Linked DNA regions of Homo sapiens: region 1 is linked to region 2. The links are contacts of gene promoters, found by promoter capture Hi-C in human tissues and cell types (Jung and others, 2019). All regions are on one chromosome and are shown on one strand. Each heading gives the region's core, a stretch centred on a gene start or on the middle of the fragment in contact. The rest is flanking DNA. Distances are from core to core; before and after follow the strand shown.

Region 1 (6,977 bases), core at 2,329-4,828, 43 kb before region 2:
ACTCCTAGGCTCAAGCAATCTTCCTGTCTTGGCCTCTTGAAGTGCTGACATCATACCGGTGGGAGCCGCCGCACCTCTAATTTTCTTTCTTTTTTTTTTTAACCAATAGATGTATGCAATTAAAATTTAAGACCATACTGTAAACAATGGGAGAGTCATTGAGGTCTTATTTGCAGAGGAGGATATACTCAGCATATAAATTATAATAATGGATAATGGTTCTCAACTTTCTTCCTTTCTTTTTTTTTTTGTTTTTTGTTTGTTTGTTTGTTTTGAGATGGAGTCTTGCTCTCTGTCACCCAGGCTGGAGTGCAGTGGCACAATCTCGGCTCACTGCAACCTCTGCCTCCCAAGTTCAAGCGATTCTCCTGCCTCAGCCTCCCGAGTAGCTGGGATTACAGGCGCCCACCACTACATCCGGCTAATTTTTGTATTTTTAGTAGAGACGGGGTTTTACCATCTTGGCCAGGCTGGCCTCGAACTCCTGATCTTATGATCCACCTGTCTCGGCCTCCCAAAGTGCTGGGATTACAGGCATGAGCCACTGCACCCGGATGGTTCTCAACTTTCAACCCAGGAGAATTCCCTGGGAATTATTAGAAATTACTGATGACCAGACCACACCCCAAATTAATTACATCAACTCTCTGGGGTAGGAACGAACATCAATATTTTTCTTTTCTCTTGGTGATTCTAACGTGCCAGGGTTAAGAACCACTGAATTAGAGTTATAATCAAGTTTGATATGAATTGGCCAATGAAATAGTATAATTTAATATTAAATGTTAATTAATTAAAACTATTAAATGTTCTCAAAAGTTACAGAAGAATAAAAACTAAATATTTAAGAAGTTCTTTTACCTTAAGTATTGAAAATAAATGGTTTTTCTCTTCACGGGTTGTTTTTATTTCCTTATAAAGCCTAGCTGTCATGTGATCCTCCTGACTCTGCGGAAGTAAGTCAGAGAAATAAAGACTAACTCACTCATTAAGAGACCTTTTACATAAAACACTTTCTTATCTGTTAGAATTTGAGCTTTCTCAGACTCTCAGCTTGTTTTCCCAAGTTTACACAATAATAAAATACACACAGTGACCTTCTTACTCTTCTTTTGCCAGCGGATTATTTAATACTGATTAGCTTTGAAATGCAAATAGCCCTATCAAATAGCAAGCTACTTGCCTTCAACCGGACTAAGGCTGCATTAGAGTGAAAGTCAAAACTGTTTTATGCAAAGAAAAAAAATAGTCTGTCAAAGGCCCCTAGGTCTTCAATTTTTTCAGGATTATATTCAGGATATGAAATTCTTTGTACTGACTAACGGATTACCTTTTCTTCTAAATTCTTTTGTTTCCAAACTCCCAATCCTATGTTGACTTACAATTAACCCTTTGCTGACCATTAGTTGAACTTTCAAACCAAACATAACGCTTTCAGCATTTGTATTTATATCACAACATGACAAATACTAGTAAGAGAGGGAATTTTTACAGAAAAAGCTTATCTAGCCTCTTACATGAGGACCACTATTTGTTTTTCTTAAACAGAGAGTAACAACTTCAGGGCTGCAAAATACCTTTGAGATTACCTAATTCACCCTCTTCATTTTACAGATATGCACCCAAGGTCTGGTACGCTTTTACTAGGTCAGTGTTTGGGCTGAAGAAAACAGGGTTGGGTTGCTGAATAGTAAATTCCTGGTGGAATGGAAACTGAGCTGACATTGGCAGATGGGTATTAAACCCGCTGGAGTCCTCCGCCTGAAATTCAAGGCTTGAAAGAGTCAGAGGCTGACAAGATACCAAGGCTGAGACTGATTTACTCTTTCTTTTTCTTTTTCTTTACTTTCTTTTTTTTTTTTTTTTTTGAGACAGGGTCTCACTATGCCCCCCCAGGCAATGATCATAGCTCACTGCAGCCTCAAACTCCTAGGCTCAAGCTATCCTCCCACCTCAGCCGCCCCAGTAGCTGGGGCTACAGGTGCACACCACCATGCCAATTTTTTTGTTTTGTTTTGTATTAGACAGGGTTTCTTTCTGTCACCCAGGCTGGAGTGTAGTGGCTCCATCACAGTTCGCTGCAGCCTTGCCCTCCCGGGCTCAAGTGATCCTCCCACCTCAGCCTCCCAAGTAGCTGAGACTACAGATGTATGCCACCATGCCCAGCTAATTTTTGTATTTTTTGTAGAGATTGTGTTTCACCATGTTGCCCAGGATGGTCTCAAACTCCTGGGCTCAAATGATCCTCCCACCTTGGCCTGCCAAAGTGTGGAGATTACAGATGTGAGCCACCATGGCTGGCCTGCCTGGCTAATTTTTAAATTTTCTGTAGAAACAGGGTCTTGCTATGTTGCCCAGGCCAGTAATGAACTCTTGGCCTCAGGCCATGGGGATTACAGGTGTGAGCCCCTGCACTTGTCCAGGACTGATTTCTCAAAAGCAGCAGAAGTTGGTGGGGTTGCAGCCAGGTGGCCCAGCCCCTGACAGCACCTACCAAGGGACTGGGGACTGCCCAGCACTGGCTGGTCCCAGGTGATCCGGTCAAACTGGGCATTCCTCTGTAATATCCTTCTGAAGAAGCTGAATTAATATCTCAGTGGGATAGTTTAGAAATGACACAGACCTGGGGCAGAAATACAAAGCTTGCTACCAGCTATGGAAGCATCATCCTGTTTGCTTTGTCTTTTTTTTTTTTTTTTTTTTTTGAGACGGAGCTGGCTCTGCTCTCAGGCTGGAGTGCAGTGGCGCGATCTCGGCTCACTGCAAGCTCCGCCTCCCGGGTTCACGCCATTCTCCTGCCTCAGCCTCCCGAGTAGCTGGGACTACAGGTGCCCACCACCACGCCCGGCTAATTTTTTGTATTTTTAGTAGAGACGGGGTTTCATCGTGTTAGCTAGGATGGTCTCGATCTCCTGACCTCGTGATCTGACCGCCTCGCCTCCCAAAGTGCTGGGATTACAGGCGTGCAGCCGCGCCACGCTGCTTTGTCTTTAAAATTATCTGCCATTAGAAAATCAAACAGTTGCCAGGGGCTGGGAGAAGGGAGGCACGAGGAGTTATTGTTTAATGGGTGTGGAATTTCAGTTTGAGAGGATAAAATAAGTTCTGAGGATAGATGGTGGTGATGGTTGCATAACAATGTAAATATACTTAATGCCACTTGCCACTGAACTGTAGATTTTAAAATGGTTAAAATGGTATATGGTAGATTTTATGTGTGTGTGTGTGTGTGTGTGTGTTTCTTTTTAGAGGTAGAGTTGCATTCTGTCACCCAGGCTAGAGTACAGTGGTTCAATCATAGCTCACTGCAGCCTCAACTTCCTGGGCTCAAGTGATCCTCCTATCGCAGCCTCCCAAGTAGCTGGGACTAAGGAGTGTACCATCACACCTGGCTGGGTTTCTTTGTTTTAGTGTTTGTTTGTAGAAATAGGGTCTCACTATGCTGCCCTACCTAAATTTTGTTATGTATATATTACCACAACAAAAATATATCTGCTATTAGTTCTTTTCTTTTTCTTTCTTTCTTTTTCTTTTTCTTCTTTCTTTTTTTTTTCTTTTTTTAGATAGGGTCTTGCTCTGTTGTCCAGGCTGGGGTACAGTGGCATGATCATAGCTCACTGCAGCCTCTAACTCCTGGGCTCAAGCGACCCTCCTGCCTCAGCCTCCTGAGTAGCTGAGAATACAGGCACGTGCCACCACGTCCAGGTACTTTTTTTGATTTTTAGTAGAGATGGCATTTCACTTTGTTGCCCAGGCTGACCTCAAACTCCTGAGCTCAAGTGATCCTACTGCCTTGGCCTCCCAAAATGCTGGGATTACAGGCGTAAGCCACCACGCTCGACCTGCTGTTAGTTCTTAAATCACCATCTCTGTGTTGTTTTTTTTTTTTTTTTTTTTGTCTTTTTTTTCTTTGAGTTCAAGAGTTTTGCTCTTGTTGCCCAGGCTGGAGTGCAATGGCATGATCTCAGCTTACTACAACCTCCGCCTCTCGGGTCCAAGTCACTCTCCTGCCTCAGCCCCCCGAGTAGCTGGGATTACAGGCATGAGCCACCACACCTGGCTAATTTTGTATTTTTAGTAGAGGCGGGGTTTCTCCATGTTGGTCGGGTCTCAAACTCCGACCTCAGGTGATCCGCTCACCTCGGCCTCCCAAAGTGCTGGGATTGCAGGCATCAGCCACCTCGCCCGGCCCATCTCGTCTTTTAAATAAGTATCTCAGGCTCAGCACGGTGGCTCACAGCTGTAATCCCAGCACCTTTGGAGGCCGAGGCGGGCGGATCACCTGAGGTTAGGAGTTCGAGACCAGCCTGGTCAACATGGTGAAACCCTGTTTCTACTAAAAATACAAAAATTAGCCAGGCTTGGTGGCGGGTGCCTATAATTCCAGCTACTCAGGAGGCTGAGGCAGGAAAATCGCTTGAATCCGGGAGGCAGCGGTTGCAGTGAGCTGAGATCGTGCCACTGCACTCCATCCTGGGCGACAGAGCAAGGAACCATCAAAAAAAAAAAAAAACCCTCATATTCTCATGTAGTTTTTTAAATACCAAAATATTCAAGAAGTCTAGGTTTTGAGAAAATCATTGCCAGACTGAAAATTACCTGATAGTAAAATCTCTGAGTAAATTTAGATTTTAAAAATTTTGTCAGAAGCAATTGGTACTCAAAGAACACAAAGATTTGTAAATTTCAGGGAAGCTAAAGTTTTCTAACAGCCTCAAAAATTTTATTTCCCAACACTACTTTCCCCAAAGAGAAAAGTTTTGTTGTTGTTGTTGTTGTTGTTGTTTTTGAGACAGAGTCTCGTTCTGTCACCCAGGCTGGAGTGCAGTGGCACAATATTGGCTCACTGCAACCTCTGCCCCACCCCAGGTTCAAGCGATTCTCCTGCCTCAGCCTCCTGAGTAGTTGGGATTACAGGCATGTGCCACCACACCTGTCTAATTTTTGTACTTTCAGTAGAGACGGGGTTTCTCCATGTTGGCCAGGCTGGTCTCGAGCTCCTGACCTCAAGTGATCCGCCCACCTTGGCCTCCCAAAGTGCTGGGACTACAGGTGTGAGCCACCACGCCCAGCCAAGAAAAGATCTTAATACATAAGTAAAATATAGAACAGTCTCCTTGTAAGTGTTTCCAACACATAAAAGAAAGGGGAGGATCTTTTTGGAATTGTTGCGGTTTGTCATTTAATCGTCACTTTAAAGTGAAGAAGATTGAGTATTAGAGAAGTTAGTTTGTCCAAGGTTTGGAAGAACAGGGTTTTGGATTAGAACCTAAACCAATCAAACTCCAAATCCTCACTGTTAACAATTTTCTGTTGGCATGCAAATGTATTTCTTCCATCAGGCTATGTAATAATTATAAATAATGGGGCTGGTATAGACGTAAGGTACTGACACTGAATAATTCCCCAAAGAACCTTGAAGTAAACTGCTTTTACATAGTGGGAAAGAGTCCTCATAAAGCACTCAGCCCTGGAACATTCTTTCAAAAGCAAGACATAAAAAAAAATCAAAAGTAAAAATTCTCTATCACCGAAAAGGAAAAGACATTTTGTTGAGTGCAAAAGAAGAATCCTGCCAAGCAGAGAGAGTGAACTGTAGCAAATAGACACAGATATATCTGGATAATTAGGCATGATATAGTGAGTGTTTCACTGAAACTTGAACAGCTGTAGACAGAAACTGAGAATTCTATAAAGTTTCTATATTTACTCCCATATCAGGAAATTACCAACCTGGCTTGAAGCTATATGGCTCAGCCTGGGATAAAAACTGGTGTGAGAGTTCCAAAGGATCAGCAGGTGAATCAGAGCCAGGACAATAAAGAGAACAAGTACAGAGCTGTTTATCTTATTTCAGCTACAAGTTTTTCCAATACCTGACTGAGAAAGTGTTGAGAGTCAACACCCTTGTAGTCACGTATGGTCTATGTGTCTTGGTTTTCACATGCATCAGGAGCTGTACATGTGTACATATGCACACTTAGGAAAGCCAGGCCTTGGGCAAAACTATGGACAAACACAGCCACAAATTTATATAACCCCAGATCTGTTCCTTCTATCCTCTGGGAACTCCGGTTTTCCCATAGCCTTCCAGAATTGTTCTAGGAGGGACTAGAGCCTATTTTTCATGAGCAACTGGGTCTAGTTCTTGTTATTAGATATGACTCAGATCACTTCCAATCTGCAAAGCAGAAGCTGTGATGCCAGTGTTTGCTGAAAATGCTGCCACTGCTATTGAACATGCAGAGGTGTGCCGTTTTGGGGCCAATGTCTAATGTAGAAGAAAACATGTCCTTTGTCCGATCTATGAAGTCAGACGGCCAGGGTTCAAATTCCAGCTTTGCCATTCACTAGGTATATTAGCAGTGACAAAGGTTTGTGTATTTAGCAAATGGGATTTTCATAGCCCTACCTCATAGGATGGTGGTAATGGCAGATGATATAATGCATATAAAATGCCTAGTTAACAGTGATTGAATGCTTATTATAAGCTAAGCAAAGTACTAATACTGCTATTATCTGTAAGAAGCAAGCAGAAGATGCCACTCTCAGCAGTGTTCCATGCAGCAAATTGCTCTGCCAGTTTTTACTCAGTCTTTAATTGCAGGCCCTCGCTTTAGGATCTAGACTGCTCCTGAGTAACATGAATGGCAGAACCTGTGCTATGCTAAAAAACATCTTCTGGCTGGGCACGGTGGCTGACACCTGTAATCAGAGCACTTTGGGAGGCCAAGGCGGGCAGATCACGAGGTCAGGAGTTCGAGACCAGCCTGACCAACATGGTGAAACGTCATCTCTACTAAAAATACAAAAATTAGCCGGGCGTGGGGGCGCACGCCTGTAATCCCAGCTACTCAGGAGGTTGAGGCAGGAGAATCGCTTGAACCTGGGAGGCGGAGGTTGCAGTGAGCTGAGATCGCGCCACCGCACTCCAGCGTGGGTGACAGAGCGAGACTCCATCTCAAAAAAAAAAAAAC
Region 2 (6,689 bases), core at 625-3,124:
TTTGTAAAAGCTTTGGCAGAACTTTACAATCAGATGGTATGATTTTGCAAAGCCACTTCCTCTTACTACCACTGGTCATCTGTCATTTATTGGGCTGCCGTAAAGCAGGATTCCCCTTAAATCAAATTAAATTGGAATCACTTGAGTAAGGCTCAGGTACTAGTATATATATACATATATAGATAGATAGATAGATAGATATATTTTTTTTTTTTTTGAGACGGAGTCTCGCTGTGTCGCCCAGGCTGGAGTGCAGTGGCGCAATCTCGGCTCACTGCAAGCTCCCCCTCCCGGGGTTCACGCCATTCTCCTGCCTCAGCCTCCCGAGTCGCTGGGACTACAGGCGCCTGCAACCACGCCTGGCTAATTTTTTGTATTTTTAGTAGAGACAGGGTTTCACCGTGTTAGCCAGGATGGTCTCGATCTCCTGACCTCATGATCCGCCCGCCTGGGCCCCCAAAGTGCTGGGATTACAGGCGTGAGTCACCGCGCCCAGCCAGGCACTAGTATTTTTAAAACATTCTCCAAGTAATTTTCATGTGCAGCCAGAATTGCAACTCACCAGGCTAAACTGCAGTTGCGCAATTCTGGTCTTCTTGATACCTGATTTCTTTGCCCCTTCTCTTTTCTGGTTCAATGCATAATAAGAATTTTCCAATATTAGTTTTATTAGCTTCCACTTACTGAATTCTGCTTACGGGGGTTCCTGCTTAGTCTAGATAGTAAGCAGGAACTTACAAACTATGTAAGCTTATAGACTACATAAGCAGGAACCCTGTAAGCAAGAACTCAGTAAGTGGAAGCTAATTAAAACTACGTGCCAGGCAGGGTGCCAAGCATTTTTTGTGCATTATCTCATTTAACTTTCATAGCAACCCCGAAGTAGGTGCCATTTCTATGAAACCTGCCCAGTTACTGCCCCACTCCGCGGAATAAGCTCTTACCCACCGCTCCTCTTCTTCAATTCATTTCTGTTATGGAACTGTCGCGGCACTACAAAGTCTCTATGTAGTTATAAATAAACGTTATCTGGAAGAGCAGCCGACAACAACTTTCAAGATCTCCAATTCCCCGACCCCACACTCCAACTGACGCCTTCAACCACAACTACTGAGCCCCACTTTCAAAGCTCACTCACTAATATTGGATAATAGTTGTCTGCCTACCTCAGCCTCCGGAGTAGCTGGGACTATAGCGTCTTACTAGCCAGCTTCAGGGCTAGAATAGCCTTTCTGTGCAAGTGGAAAAAACCTCAGGTATTTCCCAAATCGGTAGCTGCAGAGGGGCTCTATCCCTACCAGAGATGGAGAAAAGCCCTCTCGCGCTTTTTATGTCAGCCAGAGCGGCTCGTTAAGAGAGCGAAGGCCAGGGGCTGCACAGGTCGCATCCCGTGAGCATGAGGTCAGAGAACCTGCCCCTGGGGCAAACCGCGAGGGGTGGGACGGGTGGGTGCAGGCGGGGCGGAGGGTAGGAGCCGCCCTAGTGGCGGCCCCTGGGAGTGTCCCGTGCCTCGCCTTAAAGGAGGGCGCCAACGCAATTTCAGTATGTGGGAGACGGGCTGCCCCACCCCCGCGCGCAAAACCCTGGTTTAGCTTAAGGGATGGAGGCGGGGACCCCTGCGCAGGCTTGCGGCGTGGGAGGCGGCCGCCCGCGACCTACGACGCCGCGCGCCGGGAGGCTGAGAGTTCGGCGCCGGGAGGGTCCCGGGGACAGAAGAGCGCCTCGCCCGGTTGCCAAGGCAACCCCACGCGGCTGGAGAAGCCGGCGCTCGCAGCCCGGCCCGGGCCGCTGCCGGAAGTGACGCGAGTTCACCTGCCGAGCGGGGGCTGGGAGGAGGGGCGGAGGGTGCAGAGGTGCCGCCGCCGCCGCGAGCCAGTCGGGAGCGCGCGAGGCGCGGGGAGCCTGGGACCAGGAGCGAGAGCCGCCTACCTGCAGCCGCCGCCCACGGCACGGCAGCCACCATGGCGCTCCTGCTGTGCTTCGTGCTCCTGTGCGGAGTAGTGGGTGAGTAGGGGCCATGGGGTCCTCAGCACCCGCCCAGCCCGGGGGCGCTCGCTGCCCGCGGCCACCCAGGAACAATGGGGCGTGGGGGAGGGGGCGGGCGCGATTTGGGGGCGCTGCTGCAGGGGCGGCGGGGCGGGCAGAATTGCACAGGGGCGCTTTTGCTGGGCCGGGCGCTCCTGGAGCCGTCCCGTAGGGAGCCGCGCAGGGCGCGCGGAGTGCCCGGGGACGGAGCCCTCGGCGGGGGGTGGAGGCGGAGGGGCTCGGGCGCGGCGTGTCGGGTGCGCCTCGCAGCTCTCCCATAGCATTCTCTGCCCCGGTGCGGGCTTGCCTTTCTTTGCTCTCGCCGTCTCCCTTGTCAGCCTTCGTGTCGGTTCTCTCCAGCGTTACCCGATTTCAAAAACCTTGGGCGGCGAGTTTTCAGGTGTCGAGTCGCCCAGGCGGGGAGGCTGAATTGCAAACGCCATTATTCAATGGACATGGAGCTGCCCGGTGCCTCGGATCGGCCAGGCTACCTCTAGGAAAGAGGCGCTGAGCGAACGCCAGCCTGGACGGTGTTAGTCTCCTGGAAGCAGCTCGCCCAGGCAGGAGCTGCTAACCAGACGCGCATTGTGAAGGAGACCGTGGAAAATCAAAAGTGGGTTCCTGCAAAAATGTAGCATTGGTTTCTGCAGTCCTTGGGCGAAGTGCAAAGGAGAATTCAGTGACCTCGTTTTTGAGTTTGTAATGAGTCGTTCATTTTGGAGATAAGACGGGCTGAGTTGTACAGGGTAATTGCTAGAGGATTTGCCAAGTGCGTTTGTCGACTGCTCCTTTCTCTGGGAGGGGAAAAAAGGCATGTGAAAAATGCGTGGACCATTAGGAGGCGTAATCATTTTGACACTTTAAAAAACGGATTTTCCATGTCGGTGTTTTAACCAACTGATCTTGTTTGTCAAACTAAGCACTTGCTGCGTTTTATAACCAAATAATTCATTTTTAAAAATCCGTAGGTGGGATCCTAGGAGGCGCACTTAGTATAGCCTCTGGAAGGGTAATTTTTTGTTGTTAGGTGCTCTGAAGCAGGATCTAGTGGCCCTTTCTGTTGGGATGGCTCTCTGCTTCCTGTTGAAATGTTAATTCCATTGTTGGATGCCACAGCTGTGAGCATTACTCATGGGATCAACATTCTATTAGCAAGTCTAATCTTCGATCTGAGCCTATAGCACTACCTCCACCTTTTTGATATATATCATTTAGACTTGGCGGGCTGAAATGTCCAAAGTAAGCCTTCCGGAGAAGATGAAGGGTCATAGAACCAGTTTACAGGTACATTCCCACCTTTCTTTCTTTTTTTTCTTTTTTTTGTCTAGGCCGAACCTGAAGATGAAGTTGAGAACACAGTGTGTTCTCTGGGAAAAAAAAAAAAAATAGTTTTAGACCACATCTAAAGCAGAAAAGTGGAAGAACATAAATTATGTGGAGGAACTTTTTTTTTTTTTTAAATGGAGTTTCGCTCTTGTTGCACAGGCTGGAGTGCAATGGCGTGATCTTGGCTCACCACAACCTCCGCCCCCCGCGTTTAAGCGATTCTCCTGCCTCAGCCTCCTGAGTAGCTGGGATTACAGGCACCCCCCACCATGCCCGGCTAACTTTTTTATTTTTAGTAGAAACCATGTTGGTCAGGCTGGTCTCAAACTCCCGACCTCAGGTGATCCGCCTCCCTCAGCCTCCCAGAGTCCTGGGATTACAAGCGTGAGCCACCATGCCTGGCAGGAACTAGTTGTTGTTGTTTTAACGGGAATATTTAGATAATTGGATTTAATTTTTTTTTTTTGGAATGCCTCACTTTGATAGGCACAATTCTAAGAAATAATATTTTGATGCAGAGAGTCATTGTGCTCATAAGGTATACACGGGTACAGTGAACATCTACTCGAAGGGCCAGTGTCTCAGCTAAACAAGGCAACTATCTTTATTCCAGTTTTTCAGTTTAAGAACAGCTGAGGCCAGGCACGGTGCTTGTAATCCCAGCAATTTGGGAGGTTGAGACGGGAGGGTCATTTGAGTGTAGGAGTTTGAGACCAGCCTGGGCAACATGGCGAGACCGCATTTCTACAAAAAATACAACAAAATAAAACCCAAAAAGAACTAGCTAGGTGCAGTGATGCTTGTCATAGTCCCAGCTACGCGGGAGGCTGAGATGGGAGGTTTGCCGGAGCCTGGGAGGTCTAAGCTCATGAGGTCTAAGATCATGACGCTGCTCTCGAGCCTGGGCGACAGAGTGAGACTCTGTCTCAAAAAAAAAAAGAAGACATACTAATTGATGAATGGCTTTATTTCTTCAGATATTTCTGACCATTTAGAAATGCATTGGTATGGGCCGGGCGCGGTGGCTCACGCCTGTAATCCCAGCACTTTGGGAGGCCGAGGCGGGCAGATCATGAGGTTAGGAGATCGAGACCATCCTGGCTAACACGGTGAAACCCCGTCCCTACTAAAAATACAAAAAAATTAGCCGAGCCTGGTGGCAGGCGCCTGTAGTACCAGCTGAGGCTGAGGCAGGAGAATGGCGTGAACCCGGGAGGCGTAGCTTGCAGTGAGCCCACATCGCGCCACTGCATTCCAGCCTGGGCGACAGAGCTAGACTCCGTCTCTGAAACAAATAAACAAAAAAAAAGGCATTGTTATTAACTCAAGTTCACTGTTAACATGATTGACTCCTACTTTAGCAAAACAAGGGAAAGACTCATTCAGATTATACCGTCAGTGATAGATATTCCTCCAGCTCTGAAACAGTTTTGTGGTATACTCTGGCTGCAGATGGGACTCCTTTCGATGCATTTTTATTGGCTGCCTACTAGTGAGTCATACTACTAGTAATCAGTAGTAGCAGCAGTAGTAAGCAGTGGCAGTAGCAGTAGTAGTAAAATTAAACCCTTGATCAGTTATGAAATGCCAGATACTGTTCTAAGGGCTTTACATACCTATATATTCAATCCACCAAGCAACCCGAGAGGGTATTTATTATACTTATCCCTGTTGTACAAATAGAGAAACAGAGGCACAGAGTCGTTATATAATTAACTTGTGAAGATCACAGATTTGCTCTTGAATCTGTGTTCTCATCACACTATGCTCTTCTGTCCCTACAGCAGCCACTTTCTCTTACTACCACTGGTCATCTGTCATTTATTAAGAACCTACTGTTGGTTTGACTGTGTGTCAAATACTGAAGGCTTTTATTATTAGCTCTTTAATGTCATAGTCTTAATTGAATACTTTGAGGCATTGTGAGGACACTAGTTTCTCCAGGGCTTGGGTTGACATTGTAAACTAATGTGGCCTAGGGACCTGCAGCGTCAGCATTACTTAGGGATCTTGTTAAAGTTTGGGGTGGTGTTCTTCAATTGCCAACATGAATGGAACTAAAAAAGTCTGGTCTCCCAACCTCTTGTTAGCTATTTGATGGTGGCCAAGCCTCACTGTGTGTCTGTTGCCTTACGTGTCAAGAATGGGGATCCTGGAGCAGGTAATGGGGGTTGAAGGTGGAAGGGTTGGGTAGATGTTGGTCAAGGGATACAAAATTAAATCCATTATCCAACATGGTGACTATAGTTAATAACAATGTATTATATTTTTGAAAATTGCTATGAGTGGATTTTAAGTGTTCTCACCACAAAAAGTATGTGAGGTAATGCATATGTTAATTCCCTGGATTTAACCATTTCACAAGGCACACATATTTCAAAATAATGTGTTATATGTAGATAAACATACACAATTTTTGTCAATGAAAAATAGAAAAAAAACAGAAAAATACCAAATTTATAAAATAAATTGAGGTGTTTGGATGAAAAAAAATACAAGAGCTTTGCCTTCATGTCTGTAGATCTCTTAATATATTATTGGTCTTGCATCTCAGATATCAAATAAAGGTACCTAGCTTGACACAAAAGTTGGTAGCTGCAAGGTTAAGCTGTATTAGTTTGATGATGGGCCAGGAAATGATATATTTTCTAAATTTTATCCTTAAATATTGGCTGTAACAAATGCTGATATAGCAAAACGTAAGCTTCTATTAGACAGCAAGAGGGAAACTTGAGTGAATGAATGCAACTTACCTCCAAGTCCTCTTAAAGGAGGTAAAATAATAAATACTGTGTTTTACCAGTGCTCCCCCCAAAGCATTATTCTAAGCATGCAGGAGGGTATAGTGAGCAGCTACAATAGTAAGATCCAACCCAGAGGTAGGTTCAAGGCCAAGAGTAGGAGAGTGGTTGAGGAAATCCTCCTAGGGCCAGTACCATTTCATAGAATGCCCATTTGTGTTGGGGGATGAGTCTGGCCTATTTTCTTCTGATTCAAAAGCACATTCCCAATTTCAACCTTGCTGAAAAAGAGGCATTTTTGTACCTGCTATTAAGAACAGCTAGGATACAGGATAAGGCTGGCATAAAATTATTTAGCAAGCACATGCTAGCTATTCCAGTTTGAAATCTACCAAACTGTAAAATCGGGGAGAAATAAAAAGTTGAAGTTGTTGTTCCTCAAGATGAGGGAACAAAATCTTACAAAAGGTGGGATTAGGCACTCGCTTAACTCTATATGGAGAACATCCTTCTCAAGCTAGGTGGAAGATGAGGAAGAATATTACCAAAAGCTGACCAGGCCATTTGGAGACCAAAAGGAAAGGAAAAAAGGCATTT

Evidence for each region. The method cuts DNA at HindIII sites, captures the fragments that hold promoters and counts their contacts. A contact is called where the count stands out against the background at its distance.
Region 1: a fragment that was not itself captured here is called in contact with the fragment with the promoter of CXADR in region 2 in 2 of the 25 tissues and cell types used here (small bowel and stomach).

The regions. Positions count from the first base shown.
Region 1 is chr21:17,466,525-17,473,501 of GRCh38, forward strand. No RefSeq gene overlaps it. Among named protein-coding and RNA genes, the nearest start is that of TRG-GCC1-5, 15 kb to the left of the region's middle. RefSeq lists an enhancer at 6,147-6,441. The HindIII fragment of the contact is 3,015 bases long and covers 2,072-5,086 here.
Region 2 is chr21:17,511,169-17,517,857 of GRCh38, forward strand. It overlaps CXADR (CXADR cell adhesion molecule), which reads left to right and starts at 1,875. Exons shown (of 7, transcript NM_001338.5): 1 at 1,875-2,004. The coding sequence starts at 1,962. It also overlaps the pseudogene BTF3L4P1. RefSeq lists silencers at 1,326-1,445, 1,506-2,045. The HindIII fragment of the contact is 6,448 bases long and covers 381-6,689 here.